Regions from separate parts of the Homo sapiens genome. Here region 1 is linked to region 2. Evidence: promoter capture Hi-C in 16 types of primary human blood cells and fetal thymus (Javierre and others, 2016). All regions are on one chromosome and are shown on one strand. Each heading gives the region's core, a stretch centred on a gene start or on the middle of the fragment in contact. The rest is flanking DNA. Distances are from core to core; before and after follow the strand shown. Region 1 overlaps KIF5A (kinesin family member 5A). Region 2 holds the start of AVIL (advillin).

The links. Contacts are between HindIII fragments. The CHiCAGO score rates a contact against its expected background, and 5 or more counts as called.
Region 1: a fragment that was not itself captured here is called in contact with the fragment with the promoter of AVIL in region 2 in 5 of 17 cell types (naive CD8 T cells, M0 macrophages, naive CD4 T cells and 2 more); the score reaches 6.1 in naive CD8 T cells.

Annotation. Positions count from the first base shown.
Region 1 is chr12:57,562,647-57,566,684 of GRCh38, forward strand. KIF5A (kinesin family member 5A) reads left to right here. Exons shown (of 29, transcript NM_004984.4): 2 at 793-880; 3 at 974-1,047; 4 at 1,462-1,566; 5 at 1,814-1,862; 6 at 2,272-2,327. Among named protein-coding and RNA genes, the nearest start is that of KIF5A, 15 kb to the left of the region's middle. RefSeq lists a silencer at 426-643. The HindIII fragment of the contact is 4,556 bases long and covers 1-4,038 here.
Region 2 is chr12:57,817,163-57,821,562 of GRCh38, forward strand. It overlaps AVIL (advillin), which reads right to left and starts at 1,572. Exons shown (of 20, transcript NM_006576.4): 1 at 1,467-1,572. CTDSP2 (CTD small phosphatase 2) reads right to left here. Exons shown (of 8, transcript NM_005730.4): 8 at 2,765-4,400. The HindIII fragment of the contact is 1,940 bases long and covers 1-1,694 here.

The sequences.
Region 1 (4,038 bases), core at 918-3,417, 250 kb before region 2:
TTTCATTTACATGGTAGGGAACATGCTATAAATATATGTCACTAACTTTGCATCTTTCACTTAGTACATCTAAAGATCTTTCCATATCAGGGTACGTGGATCTGTTGAGGAAGATATTTCTAGCTTGAGATACTTTTTAGTGTTAATGAATTGTTCTTCAATTTTCATCACCTGTGGCCCTATTGTCTTTTTTCATCTGGTTTCCCAGGGAGGAGTTTGGGGTAGTGGAGTGCTCAATCATCACACCACGACTAAGATCCCCTAACACAATCTCACTGTGCGACACTCCTCTACCCCACAGACACAACTCCTGGCATCAGTACCTTTAGTTTCTCTTATTCTCCCACATTTCTTTTCTTTTCTTCTTCTTTTTTTTTTTGAGATGGAGTCTCGCTCTATCGCCAGGCTGGAGTGCAGTGGCGCAATCTCGGCTCACTGCAACCTCTGCCTCTCGGGTTCAAGCGATTCTCCTGTCTCTGCCTCCCGAGTAGCTGGGACTACAGGCACGTGCCACCACACCAGGCTAATTTTTGTATTTTTAGTAGAGACGGGGTTTCACCATATTGGTCAGGCTGGTCTTGAACTCCTGACCTCGTGATCCGCCTGCCTCAGCCTCTTAAAATGATGGGATTACAGGTGTGAGCCACCACGCCCGGCCATTCTCCCACATTTCTGTTCATTAAGGGCATTGAAGAAAAGGGTGCCTTTCTCAGCTGCTGGAAGGAGGTTGTGGTATTTCTTTTCCCTCACATCCTGCCTGTTGACGTCTGATATCTTTTATTTTCATTCCAGGGGAAGCCATATGTTTTTGACCGTGTATTCCCCCCAAACACGACTCAAGAGCAAGTTTATCATGCATGTGCCATGCAGATTGTCAAAGGTAATAGATTTCTTTTTAGAATGTCTCTTCTCAGCACCCCATTTCCTACCCGACCTATCTCCACCAGTACTCTTTCTCTACTGTCTCTTCCAGATGTCCTTGCTGGCTACAATGGCACCATTTTTGCTTATGGACAGACATCCTCAGGGAAAACACATACCATGGAGGTGAGGGTTCTGGCTTTGGTGGTTGAGGGGCTAGGAGTGTTAATGGAAGATCAGGGAATCTCAGTGGGGGAAGGTCTAGGAATCAAGGATTGCCTGGTCCAGAGGCAGATAGATGAGTACAGAGGATGAACTGAAGGGCAATATTAGGGGAAGTTTAATGGAATCCCTCCAACCCACTGCAGTGGATCATCCTTTCCACTACTCCAGTCTTCTTTTGATCGGGAAAAGCAATGGAAGTCCAAAGGGCTACTCAATTATCTCCTTGCTCCTCTAAAAGGCAGACATGGTGGTGACCATCTCCTAACTTAGGATGTTCTTCTTATTGACTCTTGCCTTGGTGTTCACCTGCATACATCTGAGTTGTCTCATTCTCCCTGAGCCCCAGCTTCACTCTCAAATACCTTCACTCGCCAGGGAAAGCTGCACGACCCTCAGCTGATGGGAATCATTCCTCGAATTGCCCGAGACATCTTCAACCACATCTACTCCATGGATGAGAACCTTGAGTTCCACATCAAGGTGACCAGGGCACGACAGCTGGGCATTCAGATGGGGACTGGGAGGGGAAGATCTAAAATCTTCCCACTGAAGAGCCTGGGCTCCCCAACTTGACTCCCTTTCCGGTTACCAGAGTTCTTTGTCAAGATGTTCTCTTCTGTTCTTTTCCTCCCACCACCGTTTGAGCAGGTCACATTAGTATGGGATTCCTGAACTAGATTTAAGATAGGCCCTCTTTACTTCACACTCCTTCTTTCTTCTTAACCAGGTTTCTTACTTTGAAATTTACCTGGACAAAATTCGTGACCTTCTGGATGGTGAGTGTTTTGTCCCAGTGGATGAGGGTGTGTGAGGAGGGTGGAGAAAAGAAAGCTCACATTGCATTTGGAATTAGGTACCAATTGACAAGAGATGCAGAGGGCACACAGCACCCAAGTCTTTTGGCCCCGTTTACCAGAATTTCCAAAAACTGAGAAGGTCAGGAGATGAGCTTAGCAGCCAAGGACTACATATAAACAGTTCGAGAGGATCTGGGGCCGAGGAGCAGGAGCCCTGAGGAGGAGAAGGAGGAGGAACTGAGCCTTCAGCTCGTGCAGGGAGTTTAGGCTTCACAGGGAGAGTCTTCCTTTAGCACAGAGAAGAAAACCACCATCTGAGCTGACTGCAAGGTGCAGATGGGGGCGGTGGAAGTACTAGTCTTGCTTACCCTGCATTCTTTTGATTCAGTGACCAAGACAAATCTGTCCGTGCACGAGGACAAGAACCGGGTGCCATTTGTCAAGGTGAGAGTGGGTGTGGGGCACCTATGTGGGGCCAGTGTATTGAGAATGTTGGTGGGGGAGGAGCATAGGTCAGTGACCCTGAAGTTGGAGGGTGGATATCCTGGAGGAATGAGATGTGCCTAGGGGCCAGGGAGAGTCTAGGGGATCAGAAAAGATACTGTCTTGGCTGGGCATGGTGGCTCATACCTGTAATCCCAGCACTTTGGGAGGCTGAGGTGGGTGGATCACTTGAGGCCGGGAGTTCAAGACCAGCCTGGCCAATATAGTGAAACCCCGTTTCTACTAAAAATACAAAAAATTAACTGGGCGTGGTGGCACATGCTTGTAATCCCAGCTATTTGGGACACTGAAGCAGGAGAATCTCTTGAACCTGGGAGGCAGAGGTTGCGGTGAGCCGAGATTGCGCCACTGCACTCCAGCCTGGGCGACAGAGTGAGAACCTGTCTTTAAAAAAAAAGAAGAAAAGAAAAGATACTGTCTTGAAAGGTCATTGGTCAGTGTGCATGCAATTTAATTTGCAAATCAAAGTTTACTGGAAGAAATGCCTGTAATCCCAACACTTTAGAAGGCTGAGGTGGGAGGATCACTTGAGGAGTTCAAGATCAGCCTGGCCAACATAGCAAGACCCGTCTCTCTTATTTAATCTAATTTTTTTTTTTTTTTTTTTTGGAGACAGAGTCTCACTCTGTTGCCCAGGCTGGAGTGCAGTGGCTCGACCTAGGGTCACTGCAACCTCCCTGTCCTGGGTTCAAACGATTCTCCTGCGTCAGGCTCCCGAGTAGCTGGGACTACAGGCATGTGCCACCACGCCTGGCTGATTTTAGTATTTTTAGTAGAGACGGGGTTTCACCATGTTGGCCAGGCTGGTCTCTAATTCCTGACCTCAGGTGATCCACCTGCCTCAGCCTCCCAAAGTGCTGGAATTACAGGCATGAGCCACTATGCTGAGTCTCTTGTTTAAAAAAAAAAAAAAATTTTTGTCAGGCATGGTGGCACACACCTGTAGTCCCAGCTACTCAGGAGGCTGAGGCGGGAGAATTGCTTGAGCTCAAGAGTTTGAGGTTGCAGTGAGCCATGATAGTGCCACTGCACTCCAGCCTGTGTAGTAGAGAGACAGTGGTTTTTTTTGTTTGTTTGTTTTTGTTTTTGGAGACAGATTCTCACTCTGTCACCCAGGCTGTAGTGCAATGGCATGATCTTGGCTCACTGCAACCTCTGCCTCCTGGGTTCAAGTGATTCTCCTGCCTCAGCCTCCCAAGCATATGGGATTATAGGTGCCTGCCACCAGGCCCACTTATTTTTGTATTTTTAGTAGAGATGGGGTTTCACCATGTTAGCCAGGCTAGTCTCGAACTCCTGACCTCAGGTGATCCGCCCACCTCAGCCTCCCAGTGTGCTGGCATTACAGGCATAAGCCACTGCACCTGGCTGCGACAGTGTTTTTTTTTTTTTGAGACAGAGTTTCTCTCTTGTTGCCCAGGCTGGGGTACAGTGGCGCCCGATCTTGGCTTACTGCAACCTCAGCCTCCCGAGTTCAAGTGATTCTCCTGCCTCAGCCTCCTGAGTAGCTGGAATTACAGGCATGTGCCACCACGTCTGGCTAATTTTGTATTTTTAGTGGAGATGGGATTTTGCCATGTTGGCCAGGCTGGTCACGAACTCCTGACCTCAGGTGATCCACCCACATTGGCCTCCCAAACCAAAGTGCTGG
Region 2 (4,400 bases), core at 322-2,821:
ATGTAAAGCTAGATTAATTTCTCCCAAGAGGCAAAGGAAAAAGGATGGGGTTGATGGATTTATGTAAGATTTAAAAATTCACCCAGAAAGGACTGTATGCATTTTTGCTGTTTGGGGACATACTGTTTGTTAAGAGGAACATGTCTGACCATTGTTTTCTTGAACCTTGATGGACAAAGCCAAGTTTGGAGAGCATGCGCCATCTAGTATGGACTTTGGCAAAAAACCATAAAGCTCAAAGCAGACTCGCTTTGTCTACTGCTGTAGCAGGACTAAAGCAAGGCAATGGTGCGGAGCAGCCAGTGTTTGAGAATTTAATTTGATAACTTGTGCTGCCCCACCCTGTGCTGCTCAGAATTGCCAGGAAATATGGTGTTTGGGTTTTCTTCAGACCCTACGTAGCAGTCATTAAAGGCAAAAGCCATGAGCCAACTAGGGGAAGGGGACAAGGGCCACTGAATTCATTCCTTGGAGACAGAGAACTGTCACCCTGGTAAAAGCCAAACCAGCCGGCAGCAATTAGGACTGTGAGCCTCAGAGGCTGAAACCTGTCCCGTTTCCCAGCAGGAATTTAGGAATCAAGGAGCTCCCTGGGCCAGGCACCCCGAATGCGAGAGGATAAGCTCCAGGAAGGGACTTCCTGTCACACTGGAACACACAGAAAACACAGTTCTGACATCAAATCTCCCAAAGCTGGGTCTCTCCTTCTCCCTAAATCCTAATTCAGTATCCTTTGAGAGGACTGCAGAAACCCCTTGGGTGTGGGGCACAGTTTTGAAATGTCAGGTTAAAAGCCAGTGGCCTGTAATTCTCAGAGATGCCCTTTTGGACGGACCCTGAGCAGAGGAAGCTGTTTTTTGTTGTTGTTGTTTTTGAGACAGGGTCTTGCTCTGTCACCCAGGCTGGAGTGCAGTGGTACAATCACGGCTCACTGCAACCGCCACCTCCTGGGCTCAAGTGATCCTTCTGCCTCAGCCTCCTGAGAAGCTGAGACCACAGGTGTGCACCACCATGCTTGGCTTTTTTTTTTTTTTTTTTTTTTTTTTTTTTTGTAGAGACAGGGTCTCACTATGTTGCCCAGGATGGTCACAAGTTACAAACTCCTGGGCTCAAACAATCCTCATGCCCTGGCTTCCCAAAGTGTTGGGATTACAGGTGTAAGCCACCTCTCTGGGCCAGGAAGCTGGTTTTAACTCCTCCTGCCTTGCTCCATACCATCTTTCTCTAGGGATAGGTGAAAGGGGTCTGTCTTTCCCAGCTTTTGAAAATGTGCCCTATATGTTCAGCTGCCTCTAAGGGGTTCTTCTGAACAAGAAGTTTGCAAAACTGGCCAGCCAGACTCCTGGTTCATTTTAAAAGCCTCATCTCAGAAGACAAAGCCAAGGGACTCTCAAGCTCCTCTTCCTTTCATTTCTTCCTCATTCAGGAGGATTAACTGGCATGCCCCCGTAAATCAGAGACCTTACCTTGCCTTCTCGCTCACCAGCCTTCCCAGTTTCCCGGCGCGTAAGCAGCAGCAGTATTGAAGAACCACTCCAAAGCAGGAGGCTCCAGGTCCTGCTGCCTTAGCTTAGTAATGGCCGCAGAGATACTGGGTTATATTTGCTTGTGTTTGCATCTTAACCGCATTTTCCTAGTCCTGGCCAATCAGAGCCAACCTAGCACTGAGCTTGGCTTATTCAAACCAGAGGGAAAGCTTTATCTGTGCCTATTCAAAACAGCAAAACAGAAGAGCAGACTTTTAAAGGCTTCTTTGAACTCCAGCTCCACGCCCTGATCTAATTGATTTTTTAAAAAGTGCACACAGCCCATCAATAATGCAGGAAAGAGGTTGGAAGGATATGAAATTTGCCATATTGTAGATATGGATGCATTATGGTGATGACAGGAGGAAGAGGCTGGAGCTGCCCCATGAGTGCCTGTGATGTCTAGGTTGGCAAGAGCCTCCCTAAGAAGCTTCTGGCATTTCTCAAAGGGAGGGGAAGTCTGGGAGAGGAGCCAGAATTTTATTAGGCCACAGTTTTGCTCGTTGGGGTCTCTACTAGTCATACAGTAAACCAATCAATATTTGAGTGCCTGCTGTTTGCCAGGAACCATGCTGGGCTCTCAGCTTCAGGGTTTCCAGTTTGGAAGAATCAGTGAGGGGCAGAGAAGAATCAAGACTCCATTCCCAGGGCTGGGTGTGGTGGTGGCTCACGCCTGTAATCCCAGCACTTTGGGAGGCTGAGGTGGGTGGATCACAATGTGAGGAGTTTGAAAACAGCCTGGCCAAGATGGTGAAACCCCATCTCTACTAAAAATACAAAAATGAGCCGGGCGTGCTGGCAGGCGCCTGTAATCCCAGCTACTCAGGAGACTGAGGCAGGAGAATCGCTTGAACCTGGGAGGTGGAGGTTGCAGTGAGCTGAGATCATGCCACTGCCTCTAGCCTGGGCAACAGAGCAAGACTCCATTTCAAAAAAAAAAAAAAAAATAATAATCCATTCCCTTAGGGCTTCTGGTTCATGCCCAGAAGTCAATAGGACATCAAGCATATACACGTGCTAAGCACCTGACTGCAATGGGGTTGATCACAGCAGAACTTGTGTAACCTTGAGCGGAAGCCCTGTGTGGCATCTGCAGCTGGCCTCCCGGTGGGTGCAACACCCCACTCAGCCCGGGGGTGCAGCTGCTTCATGATGGAAGGGGTTGCGAGAAGAAAGGCGGTGCTTGCCATGGGCCCAGTGAACACTTAAGGGCCAATGAAGGTTGGTGGCAGCTCACATTCCTGGAAAGGTTTTTTAAACCCACTTTTATTAATTAATTGTAAGTAATACAAATATTCCAAAAATATAAACAGACACTTAATGGCGTCCTGCATTTCAAGTTTTTGAATACAACAAATTTATCAAACCATGAATCTGTAAGCAAGGTAGTCAGAATCCCATAGCCCAGTCACAGTGGGAAGCAGATCCCCTACCCTCCAAATGGCATCTTGAAGGGGGAAAGCGGCACGAAATGGAACATGATAAGCAAAAAAGCTCACGAGGCCCAAAGAGGAGGGTCCGCTCCATGGGCAGGCCCTACAACGTTAAAAGAATGGGGCAGCTGGCCCGACCTCTGGCCTCCTCTTCCCTGGCTGAATGTAAATATTTACCAGCATTTAGAAAAAAGGAGAAAAAAGACAGAACTAAACCCGTTTAGGAAAAAGGGACCGAGGGACAGCAGTGGTTAAGTAATCCACTGAGGACCTGAAGGGGAAAATGGACTTACCTTTCTCATATACTTGGCCTGGCTAGGACACTGGGTGCCAGACAGCCTTCTGAGGGGATTTTCTTTCTAAATGAGGCCTCAGGAACAGGTAGGGGCAGCAGAATAGAATAGCATCCATTTCCCAGAGAAAGACTGCCTTTACATTTCCCATGCTTTTAGCACAAAGCAGCGTCTGGGCCACTGTTACCAGAGGTGAGTTTATACATTTACAAAATGCTTAAAATCTTTGGGAAGCAAGAGGAAGCTAAACAGAAGGTCCCATGTTAACTGAAGGCAAATTCACTCAACCTCTCTAGTAAGGGACCCATGGGCCTACAGAGTGTTCCCTCTACAATGTGCAGAGTGGAAACCCTTACCTGACCCTTTTCCAAACTGGTCCTGTGTCCAAAGCTCCCCCTATGAGAGGGACACGAACATCAGGCTTTTGATTTAGAAGCCCAATCAGAGAGACACACTGTGTCCCTGAAGAGGCACCTTAAAAGAACTGAACCTGGCAGGTAGGCAGATTCCTGGCATGGCTTGAATTGGTGCTGACCAGGCATGGTGGCCTATTGCCTCCCAAAGACCAGTCTCAAGTGGGAGGGGCTGATGGTGGGAAGCCCTAGAAGAGAGTCTGGGATGAAGCGGCCTCCTCCCTGTCTTGCCCTCCAAAATTGAGTCTGGCCTGATTCCTTTGAGGAGCAAATTTTACAATCATCCCTCACCCTAACACACGGTGAAACTGGAAACCCGACAGCAAATAATGACTAGGCTGGCTCTGGTCCACAAGAACAGACCCTGGCTAGGTTTGGCCGAGTAGCTTCTCTGGGGCAAGTGGGAATGGCATTGTTGGGGGGGAGTTGCAGGTGGGCAGGCAGGGTTCTGATGGGAGTGAGGCCTAAAAAGCAGGGGCTTCATGCAGATGCAGCAGGGACACTCCCACCAAGCCATCCTGGGCTTTGGTCATGGGTCCCACGCCAAGCACTTGGACAAGTCTGTTAGGAAAGGGGGTGGCACATGCTCTTCCGCCATCTGGAAAAACATGGAGATCCAAGGGAGGGCGGAAAGGGTCCTTGCAACTCAGTCAGCTTAGAGCCTCTTATTGCTTATTTAGTCAGAAAAGCCTGGCTGGGCCTAGACGGCAAAAGATTTGGCCAAGGGCTAACCCT